Linked DNA regions of Homo sapiens: all the other regions are linked to region 1. The links are contacts of gene promoters, found by promoter capture Hi-C in blood cells and fetal thymus (Javierre and others, 2016). All regions are on one chromosome and are shown on one strand. Each heading gives the region's core, a stretch centred on a gene start or on the middle of the fragment in contact. The rest is flanking DNA. Distances are from core to core; before and after follow the strand shown.

The links. Contacts are between HindIII fragments. The CHiCAGO score rates a contact against its expected background, and 5 or more counts as called.
Region 2: a fragment that was not itself captured here is called in contact with the fragment with the promoter of FBXW2 in region 1 in 1 of 17 cell types (activated CD4 T cells); the score reaches 5.4 in activated CD4 T cells.
Region 3: a contact is called between a fragment that was not itself captured here and the fragment with the promoter of FBXW2 in region 1, in 7 of 17 cell types (non-activated CD4 T cells, activated CD4 T cells, naive CD4 T cells and 4 more). The highest score is 10.6, in non-activated CD4 T cells.
Region 4: a fragment that was not itself captured here is called in contact with the fragment with the promoter of FBXW2 in region 1 in 3 of 17 cell types (total CD4 T cells, naive CD4 T cells and non-activated CD4 T cells); the score reaches 6.7 in total CD4 T cells.

The regions. Positions count from the first base shown.
Region 1 is chr9:120,791,376-120,795,901 of GRCh38, forward strand. It overlaps FBXW2 (F-box and WD repeat domain containing 2), which reads right to left and starts at 2,041. Exons shown (of 8, transcript NM_012164.4): 1 at 1,979-2,041; 2 at 1,774-1,882. B3GALT9 (beta-1,3-galactosyltransferase 9) reads left to right here and starts at 2,092. Exons shown (of 3, transcript NM_001386823.1): 1 at 2,092-2,547. RefSeq lists enhancers at 1,742-2,372, 2,435-2,534, 2,965-3,054. The HindIII fragment of the contact is 2,176 bases long and covers 1,215-3,390 here.
Region 2 is chr9:121,021,157-121,025,682 of GRCh38, forward strand. C5 (complement C5) reads right to left here. Exons shown (of 41, transcript NM_001735.3): 9 at 4,298-4,424; 10 at 2,248-2,363; 11 at 353-538. Among named protein-coding and RNA genes, the nearest start is that of C5, 27 kb to the right of the region's middle. The HindIII fragment of the contact is 2,092 bases long and covers 1,218-3,309 here.
Region 3 is chr9:120,987,942-120,992,467 of GRCh38, forward strand. It overlaps C5 (complement C5), which reads right to left. Exons shown (of 41, transcript NM_001735.3): 23 at 3,250-3,339; 24 at 1,627-1,839; 25 at 1,105-1,180. Among named protein-coding and RNA genes, the nearest start is that of C5-OT1, 37 kb to the left of the region's middle. The HindIII fragment of the contact is 2,287 bases long and covers 1,266-3,552 here.
Region 4 is chr9:120,961,496-120,966,021 of GRCh38, forward strand. C5 (complement C5) reads right to left here. Exons shown (of 41, transcript NM_001735.3): 34 at 2,141-2,243; 35 at 1,398-1,472; 36 at 1,176-1,281; 37 at 1-70. Among named protein-coding and RNA genes, the nearest start is that of C5-OT1, 11 kb to the left of the region's middle. RefSeq lists a silencer at 1,796-1,979. The HindIII fragment of the contact is 2,071 bases long and covers 1,492-3,562 here.

The sequences.
Region 1 (4,526 bases), core at 791-3,290:
GGTTGGCCAGATGTTTTACTGATTCAGCCACTTCCTATGTGATTATGGGCATGTCCAACTAACTTTTAAGCTTCAGTTTTATCATCTGTAAAATGGAAGCCATCATCCAACTTGAAGGGTGAAACTCAGAAATATAGCAGGGACATGCTTAGCACAGTGTACAGTCTAGCGGGTAAAAACTCAAATGGTACTTTTTGTTAGTTTTACTACTATGAACACCTGGCAGTAAAGATTTCTGTGACACTAAGGGTGGAATGGACATGACCACTAACATCTCTTTTGACCCTATCATCTTATCACTAAGTTTCTCTTCAAAATACCTGGAAGAAAAACTCAAGGGCTCAAACTTACTAGGGGTTTAATTTTATAAAGAAGAGCACCTGTTTATTGGAGGCTCTAGTTTCCCAGTAGGTGCCTTATTCTACCCACATTCCCTGCTGTTTGGCCCCCTTACCCTACGTCCCTACCCCAGAGTTAACATTCAACTTGCCCTCTTGCCTTCAGTATCAATAATCACAAAGTGGGTCATGCAACAAAAAGACTCCTAAATTGGAAAATGAGAGCCTGGGTTTGGTCTCAGGTTCTGCCATTAACTCCCTATGTTACCTAGGCAACTCACATATTTATATTGGTTTTAAAGAAAAAGTACCACTGGTAAACATTATCTCATTTCATCTTCATAACCTCATGGAAGGTATCAGTAATGCCGCCCTTAACTAACATTAATGAGGAAATTTACGGCTCAAGAAGTGGAGTGGCCTTCCCAGAATGGCACAGGAAGTAGCAGGCTCAATATTTTGCCCAGTACCCATTCTCCCAAAACCTATACTCAGAGGTATTAGAGACAGGACCTTCTGGAAAACAGTGTAAATGTGTTTTCCCCTCCTCCTCTATCAGAACCTGGCCTAGTCAAGAGTGAAAGCAACATAATTGTTAGTGGTAGAGGGAAGGAGGCTTCATTTCCCCCTTTTCTTATCAAACAAAGAGCACAGAGGCGCTGAAAATGTATACACACCTATAAACTTACATATGCATAAAATGTATTCTGAATATTCAAGAAACTGATAACCCTGGTTGCCTCCAGAGAGAACTGGAGAGCTGCAGAATAGGAATGAGGGGTCCCTTTTTATTGTATACCTTTTAAAACTGAAAACCATGTTAAGTATAATATACTATCAAAAAATAGCCTTTAGTTTTAAGGTGAATTTTTTTAAAGCTTTGAAAGAATACAAATAATGTTTATAAAATATGTGTTCTGCAACTCCACTTGTTGCTGGGTGACCTTGGGCAAATCACTTCACCTGTCTCATGCCCTGTTTCCTCACTTGTAAAATACAGCCAAGAGCATTACCTACAAGGGTTTTTATGAGGGTTAAACAAGACAGTGCAAGTAAAGCGTTTAGCACAGTACTCGGCACGCTGTAAGCCTACAGTAAATGTCAGTTACCATTATTACTTAGCATTAATATTGTTATCTTTGCTTTACTTCAAGCAGCACCCCACATACACACCTGTTTTCATGGCATACCCACAATTATGGCGCAGTATAGCGCTTTGTACTTCATAAACCACCTCATCACACTTCATCGTCTTTCAAACGTTTGGTAGCCCTGGGACATCACTGTTAACTCATTTCGCAGCTAAGGAAATGGAGGCAGTAGGAGGCAGTAACTCCAAAACCCTGTTTTCCCGTCTCTAAAATCCAGATCCCATCAACCCATTCGTTGCTCCCAGGTCCCTTGCTCTCGGAATCGTGTTCCGCGCGGCACTGACCTGAGCGAGCGCCCCGGGGCCCGGGACCTCGCGCCGGGTTCACAGCTACTAGGCACGCTCGGACCGCCAGAGCCTTGCAGCGGCCGGGTCCGCTCCGCAGCCATGGCGCCTGCAGGGAAAGAAAAACAGCCAAGGCGCGGCGGGTCAGCAGAGCCGCGGGCGCCTAAGAGTCCCCTCCCCGACCGGCCCCGCCTCGCATACAGACCCGGACCTGCGGCCGCTGCTCCCGGTCCGCAGCCTCACAGGGGAGCGGCTTCCGGTGCTGCCTGCGTCATCTCCGCGCGTCCCTCAGCTCCGCGGCTCCCGGCGGAAGCGGCTGCACTTCCGGTCCCCGCCCGGAGGTGGGTGGTGGGAGGCTGGAGGCCGGGAGTAGGGGTGGGGAGAAGAGCGTCCCGGGAAGCTGAACGCGTGCCGCGCGGCCCTCACGGTGCTTAGGCTGGGTGCAACCTAGAACGGAGGTTCCTTTCGTACCGTACATCCAGGTTTGCACAGCGCGCTTATGTCCCTCCTCCAATCTGATCTTGCACCAGCTCTGCAGTAGTTTTTCTTATTATCCTCATTTTACGGAGGAGAGGGAGCTGTGGCTTAGAGAAGTTAAGAGACGTGTCCAAATTCATACAACCTGTTGGGCACCTCTTTATCCCGAACGCTGTTCTAGGGGATAGGGTTAGTGAACAAAAAACGCAAAAGCCCCTGACCGCCTGGGCCTTACATCTATTAGGAGGAGGAAGACAGATAAACTAAGGCTCGTGCAAAGGAGAAAAATAAAGCAAGGTAAGGAGGTTGTTGAATGAAAAGAGACAGTCAAGTGATGTAGATTTGAATGAATCACAACGTTTACACTCTGGCTGTGGCCCGGTTACTTAACCTCTCAGACTTTGCTTCATCTGCATAGCAATTATAGTGAGGTCCCCATCCGAAGGCTCTGAGGATTGAAGGAAATGAAGCATGCAAACCTTTTGGCGTCAAGAACTAAAACTGAGCTAAAAAATCCCACGCACTCTTTCTCAACATTTTTTGTGTACCATCTCACTCAGTTCCCACAACAACCCCACAAGCTAGTAACTATTATTAGGCCCCTTTTTAGAGATGGGGAAACTGAAATCAAAAGAGGTTTAGGCATCTTGCCTAAGGTCATAGTAAATGGCTGTCATAGGATTTCAACCCAAACCGACTTCAGAGCACAAGTTATCCTTTTTTTTTTTTTGAGGCAACGTATCACTCTGTCGCCCAGGCTGGAGTACAGTGACACGATCTTGGCTCACTGCAGCCTCGACTTCTCCAGGCTCAAGCGATCCTCCCACCTCAGCCTCCTGAGTAGAAGGGACCACAGGCGCGTGTCACCATGCCCAGCTAGTTGTGTGTGTGTGTGTGTGTGTGTGTGTGTGTGTGTGTGTGTATTTTTGTAGAGTCAGGGTTTCGCTATGTTACCCAGGCTGGTCTTGAACTCCTAGGCTCAAGTGATCCACCTGCCTGGGCCTCCCAAAAAGTGCTGGGATTACAGGGGTGAACCACAATGCCCAGCGCACAAGTTATCCTTGTTTCTCTGTAAGGGTTCCTAAGCCATACATGCATACACGCACATTCACATACATCTTATACCAACACTGTCCAATAAGCTTTTTGCCAGTGATGGAGTTGTTCTGTTGGTGCTGTCCAATAAGGCAGTCACTAGTCTCTTGTGGCTACTGAACATTTGAAAAGTACCTGATGTAAATGAACTAAATTCTTAATTTTATTTAATTTTAATTTAATAGCCACATGAGGCTAATGGCTACCATGCTTGATAGCACAGTCCAATAATATAGACAATAAGAGAGACACATATCCAGTAGATGGTAGAGCATGGCCAAGGTTCCAAGCATCCTGACTTCATTTAGGGTACTTGAAACATGGGAAATAAAAATTGATTATGTGGGGTGGAAGTCAACTACGGTGTCCTAAAAGTAAGGTCTCAAGAGAGCAAATTTGATTTGCTAAGCAACAGGATGTCACTCTAGACTTCTAAGTCAGAACGTGACTGATCACAGCATTATAAGACATTTAGGAAGACAGATATACAGATTGGATACTCTCTATGAAAGGGAAGGCAGTACCAGGGTAATCAAGAAAATCAAGCACCCATATCTCTTTGGAGCAAACATTCTCAACCCCAGTACAGTTTGATGAATCAAATTGAAAAGTCCAGATGGAGCTGCCCCAGAGATAATATTGTTTGGACCTCTCATAACAAAGAAACCAAATTGTGCAAATTTAAGCCCAGAGGGGATCCAGGAGCAAAATTCATGACTATAAAAAAATTTTTAAATTGCAAAGTGGACGTAATATTTAATTAAATACAAGACCTATTGAATTGTTAAATTCAGAATATGTAAAAATTCCCTTTCATTTGATATTTTTAGGTTAGATTTTTCCCACTTTGTAAAGATTTTCAAGATTGTATGATGGTTGCTGAGAAAACATAGCCAACTTTAAATATAAGAAGTTATTCCTGGCCAAATAATTACAAAAGCTGTTGTAAATGGCAGATAGGAAGATCAACATGTTGGATGTTGAAGGAAAGGACGAAATATAGCCTGGCATGAGAAAAGAATGCTCAGTATAATTGCTTGTGTGACAGGAACATGAAAATATGCTGAATGTTGTTTCTTTTCTCGAAATAAACTTGCTGGTAGAAATGATGTTTGGGATAATTCCTACACATGCATACTCCAGGAAAGGAGAAAACATCAAATGTTTAGTTTCTTCAATTC
Region 2 (4,526 bases), core at 1,014-3,513, 230 kb after region 1:
ACCCTTTTGTGGCCCTTCAGGGGATTAAAAGTGAGGGGGGAAGAGAGGATATTCCTAACACTCATGTGCACTGCTATACCTATTCTGAAGCTTCTAGAGTCTGATATGGTCTTAACGGTGTAAGATAAAACAATTAACTCCCAAATAAAAAATTGATACATTTATCTTCCTCAAGGACCATTCAATGGATTAGCAGATTGTCTCTGGGACTAATTTGTCTTGGATGCAAAATTATGGAACTGTTCACTGGACTCATGTGTAAAATCTGCCGCATCTGTTCTGCACACTAGCCAAAACACATGGTCAAGAGTACACATTGTCCTAGAAAATACAACAGGAGAATTCAGCTCACATTAAACTCCAGCACCGTCACTCCAGATGGGAGATTAAGCACAAAGGAAGCTACTCCATCATCAACACGTGTTACACTTTTGCTTGGATCCAAGTCAGATGTCTCTTGGTTTACATCAATTGTTTGTGCATTCAGTGTTACTGGGACTCCTCCTACCAACTGGTCAAGCGAATCTTTAACCTGCACCTGTTTGTCAAAACAATCCAAATCTATTTCAACAGCTCATCACTTATTTTAAAGCACAATTCTGAAATAATTTTCCTTCCTCCCCACCAAAGTATAAATTATTTATGTATTTTTTTCTGAAAATTTTTTTTCTGAGACAGAGACTTACTACGTTGCCCAGGTTGGAGTGCAGTGGCTATTCACAGGCACAATCATAGCGCACTGCAACCTTGAACTATTGGCCTCAAGCCATCCTCCCACCTCAGCCTCCCAAGTAGCTGGAACTATTTAGGCATGCTCCACCACACCTGGTTTACTTATGTTTAATTTAGTAAAGAGAAGTGTATTCTCAGCTTATAGAAAGATTTAATTCTATTTAGTTAAATCATTCTTGAATAGATTCTCCCATAAATCAAGCAAACTCAAAACATAAATATCATTCTATTAAGTCAGTCAAGGAGTAGGTGTGATAAGGTCTTCTGCTATCTAACTTCTGTATTTCTTTGATTGGTTTAGGACTGGATAAAGGAGAAAATGAGGCAATCGCTTCTGGGAATAAGTCCCTTGAATATGAGAAACAAAAATAGATACACCTTTTTTCCTTTAACATCTACCTCTCACTGCCATATATATATATATATACACACACAATTCCACACAGATATAGTTTGTTATTTTACTTTTATATAAACATATTTTAAGCTTATGTTCTATATAATATTGCTATATTTACATATTTTAGTATATATATTATATATTACTGTATATGCATTATATGATACTTTGTTATATATTATTTTCTATATATAGTATATATATGTAAGAACCTACAAGCATGTCCAAACCTTGCTTTGGGCTTGGTAAATCCTTTTTTTTCTTAAAAGCCCATGACCCACAGTAAATAATAAATAACACATTTTGATTGTACTTAAGTTGATTTTAAAAAGTAACACATTTTCAAAGAACAAAAAAAAATTTTGCTCTGGATTTCTAAATTAAGGGCAGGGAATAAACATTTCCATTTAATCAACATAATAAAATATATTATTTGTAATAAAATATATAATGATAGATAAAAATCTAAAAACCACATGAATGTTTCAATTCTATACTGTCAGCATTTAGAGGAGGAAAAGAAGGTGAAAGAGAGAAAAATGAATGCAGAGGAGTAAGCAAAAAAGACAGAAAAAAAGAGATTCAGGGACGGAAAGAAGCAAAAATGAAAAGAACAGAGAGCAATACAGAGACGAGAGATTGAACAGAGTTATGCACAAAGACAACACAGAGACAGAGGGAAACAAATGAGACACACTGGAGGCAAAAACATAGTGAGAGAAAGGAGTCTATTTTCAAGGAATGATATCTCCATCTTAAGGCTTTTTAAGAATTTGCCACCAAATAATTTTAAATGTTTGTATTTTTGAACTAGAGTCTTATGAGATTTTATTTACATATAATTTAATGCTTATTTATTACATGTAATTTAATGCTTATTTAGGGATGCCTAATACAAGGCTATCTTGCCCTCACTTTTGAAGTCATTGCCAAGGCTGCAGCTGACCTTCAATTTCCCATCCCTGTCTGTGTCCACCAGGAGGGGCAGGTTTCACAGAATAAGCTCCCTCTGTGACTTCATGGCAACATTCTTACCCTGTTTGCCACCCACATGTTTTCCATGAACAGAACAAGATGATCATATGTAGCAACGTCTACCCCCTCACCCAATCTACCTTGATGGGATATGGAATCCCAGGCTTCAGGAAAAGAGGAGTAGCAACCAAATTCAGTTTGTAGGGAGAGAGGACATATTTGATGCCAGGTATTTCTGCCTCTTCAGAAAATCCACCTAAGGAAATGGCAAGCATCATGTTGACAGTTTTTAGGAGTATCATGATCTGTATGGATATCCATTTCATCTCTATATGTCTCCACAGACTTATTCATTCACTCACTCCATTCTTGCATTCATTCATTTACCAGTAGTAAGTAGGACATAGGTCTTGCTTCAGAGGGGCACAGCAGAGAAGAGTTTAGACCTCAGGAGTTTCCAAGGCCTTATGCACAAGCTCGTATGTAGAGAAGCCCTTGGAGAAGTAGAGCTACAGGACTGGACTGAGGAAGGATGCCAGGAAGGGACACCACTTTTCATCAGTGGCCTGAGTTTCAGTTGACTGTATTCAAGGGATTGAGGAGAGAGGGAAGGGTCAGGCCAGAAACTGAGCCTTACAGAAGTGGAGGTGGGGGATGGGGGTTGGTGTTCACAGAGCATAGATACATAGAGAGAAATCAGAAAAAGGGAGCTTGATATAGAAAGAACCCTGAAAGGGAGTTCGAGACCAGCCGGGCCAACATGGTGAAACCTCATCCCTACTAAAACTAAAAAACGAAAACAAAAAAAGTGCCAGGCATGGTGGTATATGCCTGTAATCTCAGCTACTCGGGAGGCTGAGGCAGGAGAATTGCTTGAACCCAGGAGGCGGAGGTTGCATTGAGCTGAGACTGTACCACTGCACTCCAGTCTGGGCAACAGAGCAAGACTCGGGAGGGGAGGGAGGGAGGGGAGGGGAGGGGGGAGGGGGAGGGGGGAGTGGGAGGGGGGAGGGGGAGGGGAGGGGGAGGGGAGGGGAGCGGGAGGGGGGAGGGGGAGGGGAGGGGGAGGGGAGGGGGAGGGGAGGGAGGGGAGCGGGAGGGGGGAGGGGGAGGGAAGGGGACATGACCAGACAACTGGCAAGAGCCCAATAATGTTATCCTCCAGGTAAAGATTAAGTTAAACTATTAAGAATAACATTTGAAGCTTTAATATTCCCAAACTCCTTTCCAATATTACATCTCTAATACATTCTATACATATCCTATATTTTAGCCAAACTGGATGATCTGCTGTCCTCAAAGATTAAGCTTCACCATCTACTCTTCTTCATCTGCCCTCTCTCTGGAGGGTTTCTATTTCACCCTGTCTAGCAACTCTGCCTCAAAACCCTAATTATTTTTCAAGACTGATCATCTTCACAACACTGTTCTTGCTTGCTCAACAATCATCTAGAAGCTCACCTTCCTCTGAATCCTATTGCATTAATATTTTGCTTAGAGCTCATATGGAATTCTTTCTTGCAACAGTTCTTTCTTCACCTGTCTTATACCTGATGCTAATTTGTAAGCCACTTTAGTGCTGGCATCATACATCATTAATGTTTGCAAGCCTGTCTGTTTGGCAATACTTTAAATATCTCATAGATACTGCTTAAACTGAACTTATTTAAAATAAGTTGAGGAAAAAATAAAAAGAAGAAACATTAAAATAATGTTGAAAACTTTAGGCTTTAGGAAACATTCAGTTTGACTCCATCATTATGTAGACTATAATAATGATAATAGTAATAACTTTTATTTGTATAGTACTTTATCAAATAGTTTTACACACATAATCTTATTTTGGTTTTGATTTTCACCACGTGAGGACACTAGGGTGCCAAATGGTCAAGGCAGAGAGCCTGCAGAACTACTTTGGACATGAATTGGGTACTGTTTTCCCATTTTTGCAGTAGAAGTGGAGGTAATAGGGACCCAATGGCTTGTCCAATGACTAAAAAGAAGCAGAGCCCTACTGCCTTTTTATAACTATATAAAAGTCTACTTCTTATAATTATATTTAACTATGAAAGAAAATACAATGTGAAATAATTATAGAAATTGGAAATTATTTATATCTTTAATATTCTGTCTAAATATTTTTCAAAAGAAAGTATACACACACACACACACACACACACACACACTTACCTGTAGACTCTATGACTGTTACAGCAATATAAAGGTACTTGTTGTTTAAATCTTCTAAACTGTAGTATGACAGTTCTTTGACTGCTGTTTCAGAATCAAATGTGACTTGAGCAATTCCATTTATCAACTTTTTAAAAGGAGAAAAAGGAGGAGTTATTTCGGAGAAGAACTTATAAGGAAAAATTAATAAAATCTGCTTTTACTAACCTCTAAATTGAAGGTAAATGTC
Region 3 (4,526 bases), core at 1,159-3,658, 200 kb after region 1:
GCCACTACGCCCAGCTAATTTTTGTATTTTTCATAGAGACGGGGTTTCACCATGTTGGCCAGGATGGTCTCGATCTCTTGACCTCATGATCCGCCCGCCTTGTCCTCCCAAAGTGCTGGGATTACAGGCGTGAGCCACCATGCCCAGCCGGTATTTTTTGAAAATAGACTGCCATATGGACTCTTAATTAATTCAGACTATCTTTCCCTCAAATCATCAGAATTTTGGAAGATATGTTTCATTGAATAAATACTTACTGAGCATCTACTATGTGCCAGGTAGGTACCAGGCACTAGGGATACTTAGAACTTCCCGCATGGAGCTTATATTCCAGTGGGGGAGATACACAATAGTGGAATAAGCAAGAACGTTAGTAATCACACTGAGGAGAAAAGAAACGATATGAGGTGTTGGGAGGGGAGTGGATTGCAATTTTAGACATTATGATATAGCAGAGGCCTCCCCAAGGTGACATTTGGTAAAGACCTGAGGGAAATATGAGAGCCAGTCATGCTGACACCTAAGGAGGAGTATTCCAGACTGAGAAAACAGTGCAAAGGCCCTGAGGTGGAAGCATGCCTGGTGTGTTTGAGGAAGGCTAGTGGGGCTGAATTGGAGGGAAAGAGAGTATAGGAGATAAAGTAGGAGACATGAGGTGGAGCCAGATCATACAGAGCTTTGTAAATCACAATAAAAAGTTTGGTTTTTACTCTGGGTAAGATGGGAAGCTCCTAAATGGTTTTGAGTGGCATGATCTAACATATGTTTTAACAGGGTCACTTCAGTTGCTGTGTTGAGTATATACTGAAGAGGATCAAGGGCTGAACCCAGAAGACTAAGGGAGACTAGTGTAAGAATCCAGGTGGGAGAGGAAGGTGTCTTGGAACAGGATAGTGTGGTGGAGGTGGTGAGAAGTAGTCAAATTAAGGATATATTTTGAATCCATATCTGCTGGATCAGATGTGAACGGTAAGAGAAAGAGAGGAGTGAAGGATGACGAGGCTTTTAGCCTGAGCAACTGGAGGAATGGAGTTTCCATTATGGTTATTATTCTTTAGTTAATTAACCACTATATGAAAATGCAACTCAAAATCTTCTACTTACCAAGTGCTAGCACTTCCACCCTTCCACACACTGTAAGAGTAGTCAGCATTTCTGTAGGACATAATGCTCAACATCCCTAAGAAGCACAAGAAAAAGAACACGGTGCTTAACAGACCTCCGTTTCTACTCAAAGAACACTTTATCAGGCCCTGAGAATGGTAAGCTTCCTTTGGTGTTGGGCAGCAAGCATATGCTCTGTGGCCAGCATTGAACTTCTCAAAGGAAGTATATGAATTGCTCGAATTGGGAATTATCAAGTAGAACATTCTGATCTCATTCGAAAAGGAAGGAAGTGTTCTGTAGTTTGGAATGCAGGTGCCTTGCCTCTCATTCAGGCATTTTGGTAAGTTGAGCCAAAATGCTACAGAAATAATATTTATTTATATAGTAGAGTCCATCTCATGATTTTTTTGCTAAAATTCTCTTACAAAGTTTTCTATAATTCACAACTTAAATATTAGTTTAATAAAAATATTAGTTTAGAATCACCCAATTTTTATGTGAAATACTTTTTTTTTTTACCTTCTTTTAATTTTTTCTTCAGTTTCTGCTTTTCAATTAATGGGTCAGAATGAAAAATGTTCCAATGATTTCCTGTTTCCAGGTAGTGAAAAACATAGAATACTGGGACAACGCTCATCAGCTCCGCCTCTGCACTCCCTTTGGGGAGGTGGGTTAGGATATTGATGCCTTCCTGACTTAGAACTGCAGACAAGATCTCACCTACAAGCAGTCCTGAAACAAAAAAGATCAAAGTAGACACATTGCTTTTTATTAACTTCTAACAGTATGTTCTCAAGAGAGAAGAACAACCATCTAGAGATGGTTCTTCCCTTTTTATCTAGGCAGTTGACTTGCTTCTCAGAAACGGGGTGAGAAAAAAAGATCCGGTTAGGAACATGAATTTGAAAGAAACAAAAAAAAAAAAGACTTTAAAAATCACTAAAATATGGTGGTAGGTAATGTAATACAGTGGACTGATTGCTGCAAGAGAACATGGCAAATTAGTTGCCATTCAACCTGTTAGCTTTAGACATTATAAACCATATTTACCAATCCCTTCCAGGAAGCAAAGCAAAGAGCCTGAACAGGGAGTGCTGACATGACTGTCTATAATTCACTGTGCAACCTTGGACATGCCACTTTCTTTTATATCCAACAGCAGGGTTGCACATGATCAAAAAGATCCTTTCCAGTACTAACATTTTGTGATTCTAGGGTTTTATCTGAGATAAAATGTAGTCAGGACATTCTATCATTCGGTAATATGTTATTGAATTGTAAAGCCTGGAGACTAAGGAAAACCTAGTCACTTGTGCAAATATCACTTCTGCAAATGTATGCGAGGGGAGGAGAATCCCTGCTATGGTTTGAATGTATATGTCTCTCCAAAATTCATACACTGAAGCCTAATCACCAAGGTGATAGTATTAGAAGGTGGGGCTTTTTGAGAGGTGATTAGGTTATGATGGCTCCACCCTAATGAGTGGGATTAATAATCTTATAGACGAGGTAAGAGGAAGTTCTTCACCCCTTTTTGCCCTTTTGCCTTTCCACTTTCTGCCACAGGAGGATACAGCAACATATATCCTCATGGAAACAGAGAGCAGCCCTTGCCAAACACCCAATCTCTTGATGCCTTGATCTTGGACTTCCCAGCCTCCAGAACTGTGAGAAATAAATTTGTATTATTTATAAATTTTGTTATTTTGTTATGGCAGCATAAATGGACTAAGACAACCCTTCTGGGACCAGTACTTCAGCAGAGCAGTGCTGTTCTCGCTAGGCCATGTGCAGGCCATAGGCCTTCTCTGGAGCGGGACTGGCCACTAAGACCATGGAAAGTTCTTTAAGTCTAGAAGCAACTGGACCCCCATTTTAGAGACATCTTTGAGCCAATGACAGTCCCTACCTTCCATTGGAGGAGAATGCATCTCCATGTAAATCAGGCCGTTGGAAGAAGATAGTGGGAAAAGTGATTAAAGGTTTGAAAGTGGGGGTGGGTAGGGGTGGAGCACTCCTAAAGGTAGATTTGTGTGTGCTACTGAACACGGAAGTGGAGAAACAGAATAATCATGAGGATATTTGATTTTTGTTTGAAGCACCAAGTGAAATGAGAAATAAAAATGGCATTTGTTAATTTACCTTTTACACTCAAAATCCTTTTGATTTCTGTTTTGGGGACCAAATCTAAGGGTATCCTGTATGGGAACTCCTTTCGTCTGCTAATGGTACCTGTAATTTAGAAAATTTGGATTTATACAGAGTTTCCAGGGGAAGACTGTTTGCAGATTATTTATAATGTATCTACTTCCAAAGAATATTTCAAAATAAAAGACTTATAATTAGACTATTAAAATTTTAAAAGAAAGTTAAAAATCATCAAGGACTTTAATCAAACCCTAGGCTTGTATAATCTTATTAAATAAAGCATTAAATTTGGCTGTAAGCTTCCTGGTCATTATAAGATGTGAAATAAATAGGTTATATAAATCTTATTCACCAGCAAAATATAGCATGCCAGCTTGCCCAAAGACAGAAAATTGTTCCTGGAACTGAAAGCTAAGAATAACTAACATGTAATTTCTTAATCAACTATATATTGAACATTAGCTCCACAGGGAAGTATGATCTGAAATTCTTTCCACCTTCCCTTCCCAGTCTAGTTTTGATACTTTTTAATCTATGGGCAAAACAACAGAGTTTTAGCATACTGGTATCAGATAATTTTTCTACTGTGATCACTGGTTTATGTCCAAAAAAAGGTAACATTGATCATTCTACTGATAGAGTACCAAGCATGCTACTAAGTTCTTTAAATGAATTATTGCATTGGATTCTCACAACAGTCCTCTATGTTAGGTCTATTTTCATTAGTTTAATTTTATAGATGAGGAAATTGAGGCTTAGAAAGTAACGTGTTCAAGGTCCCAGAAACAATACAAGTGGAGCTGCAATCTGAACTCCAGAAGTTTTGCTGCAGAGCCCACACTAGTCACCACAAAGAGAATCCACCTCCCATTGTCCTGCTAAGAAAGCACTCTGGGGGCAGGAATCATTTCTCATTCCAGCTGTAGTCCTGGCACTTAGCACAGACCCTGGCATATGGAAGATGCTAAAGAAAAATGAGTCACATTTTGCAATTTAATGGACAAGCCACATGGCTTTCCTAAAAATGCAGGAACATTCCTCATAAAACTTCTTTCTTCATTAATCCTTGATAAATGCAGAGGATATATCAAAATAAAATTCAGAAGACATTTAAGAGGTTTGCACTTTGAGTGAAAGAGCATGAAGTTCAAAAAGAGCTTAGTATATATGTGACGCTGGGCAAGATACAACCTTTCTTAGCCTCAATTTGTTCATCAGTTAAATGGAGATAACAACATTTTCCTCAAAGGATTTTTGTGGGATAAAAATAA
Region 4 (4,526 bases), core at 1,277-3,776, 170 kb after region 1:
CACGCGGCTCCTTCACAGACTTTCTGAATTTTGATATTGGAAGTGCTATAAAACATGGTACACTGTTTATCTGTGGCAACAAAAGTGTGGTTAAGAGAAGTGGTTTGATTGAAGAACAACACATTTACTAATTGGCAAGTGTCTTACATGGAGCCTCAGAGATTGCTTATTTTAAACCCTTCTTTTTATAGCTAAGGCCCAGGGAGGTAAAATTATGAATTGGCTGTCCTGGGAAGGGTTCCGCTACCCTCAGAAAGATCTCCCCTTTTTCACTTAGTTCTGTGCTTGAAACACTCGTTTCTCAGAAATAAAACATTTGATGCTTCTCTAAGTAAGAGGAAAATAAATTATGTTGCATGAGGATCTTTTGAAAGAGTTGGAATTGTTTAGGGTGGACAAGGGAAGAAAAGCATATATCTATGTATCTCTATATATCTATCTCAAGGGGAAGAGGGACTATGTATGTTCTATGTGATTTCAGAATATAAAACTAGAATGAATGGGTGTCAGAGTTTTGGTTCACTTCAAGAATTTTCTAACAAGTAGAACTGCCCAAGGTGGAGTCATCTGTCTTGTGATCCAATAAGCTCTCCAACCACATAACATTCTCAAAAATGGCTGAATAGTCAAATGTGGGATCACCCATTCATAAATATTTATTGAGTTCACATTCTATACCCGACGCTGCGTTAGATACTAGGGACACAAGAATGAAAACACCCTGGGGTTGATGAAAAAGACATACAAATAATTGAATGCAATGTGACAGCTGCTATAATAGAGCTATCTGCAAAGTGTAACAAGAATATAGATGGGCTAGAAGTTGTTCTGGGGGGATTGAGTTGATTTCTCTCAAAAGGAGAGATATGATTTATCTGTGAACACCATAGATAAACCTGAGGCAAAGAATATTGAAGTTGGAGGCACTATAATCCAGTTATTTTAAATATGAAGAAACTGAGGACTGAGGTGAAACGGTCTGCTCAATGTCAAGAAGTAGTTTATGTACAATATTTTGTATGCAGTAGTTTTGAATGTTCAAATTGGGACTTTCATGAAGAGTGGTCCCTAAGAGAGGCAATACATAAAATTTACAGGACTCTAGTGGATTTCTAAATGTTCTGGAAAGAATACAAAGTATTCTTCTGAAGAAATGTTAGCATGGAGTTGATTACCTGGTCTGTGGTATTCGTACACTGTGAAAGTGGCAGGACTGAGAAACCCAACTTCAAAGAGTTCAAATATCCGGAATCGTACACAAAGGAAATCACTGGAGGGAATCTGTTTAACAAATTCAAGGATTTAAGGAAATTATGGAGAGATGATATTTATAATCTTTTAGCCTGTATATTTTGAATAGTAATAGTAAAGGAAAAATGGTTGCAGGTGGAGCTTACCGAATTCAGTTGCAGAATAACATGTCCATCTTTGATTTGGTAATCAGTGAATAGTTGATCCACCCCTTCCACAAGCTAAGGGGGAAAAGAGAGAAGCTTGAATTTCATTTCATTATCTTTTTGTTTAAATGCATTCACCTGTTGATGAGATAGCACAATGCAGGGATGTGATCTGTAATTCAAAGAAATTGAAGAGCAGTTCCTCTTCTTGAAAAAGTCTGAACACATTAGCATATAAACTCATATTTTACAGAGCATGCTAGTGTATGCTTCTGCTTCACTTTGATAAATCAAAACTTAGGTTAATTATGTTTTGAAAAGAATATTCTGGCCAGGCCTGGTGGCTCACGCCTGTAATCCCAGCAGTTTGGGAGGCCAAAGCCAGTGGATCACCCTGATGTCAGGAGTTCGAGACCAGCCTGACTGACATGGAGAAACCTCGTCTCTACTAAACATACAAAAAAATTAGCCAGGTGTGGTGGTGCATGCCTGTAATCCCAGCTACTCGGGAGGCTGAGGCAGGAGAATCACTTGAACCCGAGAGGTGCGGTTGCAATGAGCCAAGACTGCATCACACTCCAGCCTGGGCAACAAGAGTGAAAATCCACCTCCAAAAAAAAAAAAATATTCTGGGTGATTCTATAAAAGTGGTATATTCAAATGAAAGAAAGTAAAATTGTCTATAAAATAATTCAGAAAAGAAAATGAAGCATTCACAACACGATTTAAAAGAAAACACATACGGCTTTTAAGTCTTCTTCATTTGCACTGATTCCAGTAGGCAAGGAGATGTCCATCACCGCATGAGAGGATCCAGATGATGATTCTTCCCTGCTGGGCTTGTAGCTAAAATAAAAAAGAGGTTAGAAAATATAATAAATAAGTGAATAAGAGTCTTTAAGAAAGGACACTCTTCCTTAGTAGACCTTAATTTTTAAATTTGGGTCTCCATTTATTTGCTTTTCTACAATGTATGGGTTAAAATCTCTGACTTTAGAGTTGCAAGAGATCTTTGAGTCATCTATTCTCTTTCCTCACTTGATCAATAATCTCAACAGACCACTCTACTGGAACACAGAAGTCATCCACACCAAGCTAACTAGCTGGGGAAACTCAGGATGAGAGTAAGGCACTGGTTCAAGGTCACATGGCTAATTCATGCAGAGCTACAGAAGAATCCAGGTCTTTGGATTCTCACGTTAGTTCATTTTCTAATGAAGCATATTCCAAGGAAAAAATCAGTTGTATGTTGAAAAGAGATTCAATAAACATGTCCAGGAAAAGCTGGAAGAAAATACACTAAGGCAAGGCACGGTGGCTTACGCCTATAATCCCAGCACTTTGGGAGGCCAAGGCAGGCAGATCACTTGAGGTCAGGAGTTCAAGACCAGCCTGGCTAACACGGTGAAACTCCGTCTTTACTAAAAATACAAAAAAAATTAGCCGGGCTTGGTGGGACACACCTGTAATCCTAACTACAGGAGAATTGCTTGAACCTGGGAGGCGGAGGTTGCAGTGCGCCGAGATCGCAGCACTGCACTTCAGCCTGGACGACAGAGTGAGAATCCCTCTTTAAAAGCAAACAAACAAACAAACAAACCCACAAATATTAGTAGCTACTTTGGATGGTGAGATTATAAGCAATTATCTCTTTTCTTTTTCATGCTTTTCTCTATTTTCTATATTTCCCATAATAGCTACTTTATATAGAAAATGTTTCAAGGACTGTCCTTTCAGTAGGAATTCTGCTAGTAGGAATTTAAGCGGAAATGCAAAAAGGGCACAATGGGAGGGTTTTGTTTTTGTTTTTGTTTTGTAAGAGAGAAAAGAATACTGAAATGGAGAATCAGGAAACTTGGGTTTTATTCCAGTTCTGAGATTCCCACAAATCATTTCCCCTTTCTAAGCTCATTTTCTTATTTGTAAAATTAACTGTGAAGAAGTATAAGTTTGTGTTTTAAATTTATCTTTATAATTCCCAGGCTTTGGTTTTGGGTGGCAGAGGCTTAGAGCTACCATTAAGAGATGTTAGAAGACATAAAAGAGACAGGCTGGCGGGGCTGAGGCTGGGGCAGAGACAGACGGAGTGTGATTCTGTAAAAGTTGATTTCAGGTTCCAGCCTCACCTCAAGATGCTTGAAAGGCAGCTGGATGTTTGAGAGTGAAGCTTGGGAGAGCAGTCAGGATTAAAGGAAGAAATTAAAAGACAGCTTCATAAGGGGTAAAATGAATTGATCTCACCTACAGGTATGAATGTTGGTGGAAGAGGAGATACTAAGCAAGTTAGTGAGGGGTCAGGGCATATCTTTTCCTCAATGACACCTCATAGAGCATATATAATGCAGTCCCAGCTGGGTGCGGTGGCTCACACCTGTCATCCCAGCACTTTGAGAGGCTGAGTCAGATCAGCTGAAGCCAGGAGTTCGAGACCAGCCTGGCCAACATGGTGAAACCACTTCTCTACTAAAAATACAAAAATTAGCTGGCTGTGGTAGCTCACACCTGTAATCCCAGCTACTTAAGAGGCTGAGGCACGAGAATGGCTTGAGGCTGGGAGGCAGAGGTTGCAGTGAGCTGAGATCGCACCACTGCACTCTAGTCTGGGCAACTGAGCAAGACTCTGCCTCAAAAATAAATAAATAAATAAATAAATAAATAAATAAATAAATAAAAGCAGTCCCCATTAGAAGTCATAGATGTAATATTTGCCACAATAAAGAAAAGTATTCTAAAATCTCTGACTCATAAAAATTTAACCCTATTCTTCACCAAATTAACAATTTAGAACAGAATATAAAACACTTGGAACTCTAATGTGACATCCGAACATCTCCCTAATTGGATGGGTAGAAGCAGAGCACTCTTGCTCACAGATGCAAACACTTTGTCAGCAGGATGGAAAAGGGCCTCCCGAGTGGAGAGTGTCTATGAAAAGGTTGCTGGAGCCTTGATGACTGGTTGCCATGGAGACTGTTTCAATGGTGGAACAGAAATCCTCCTTTCAAGAAGCCCTTTGCCTGCTGCCAAAACCAGCAATCTTCCCCAAAGGCATTTTGTTGTGAGGGAAATGAAATCCTTTTTTCTTTTCTTAGGAATACAACAGAGAGGTTGTAAAAAGGTAAATACACG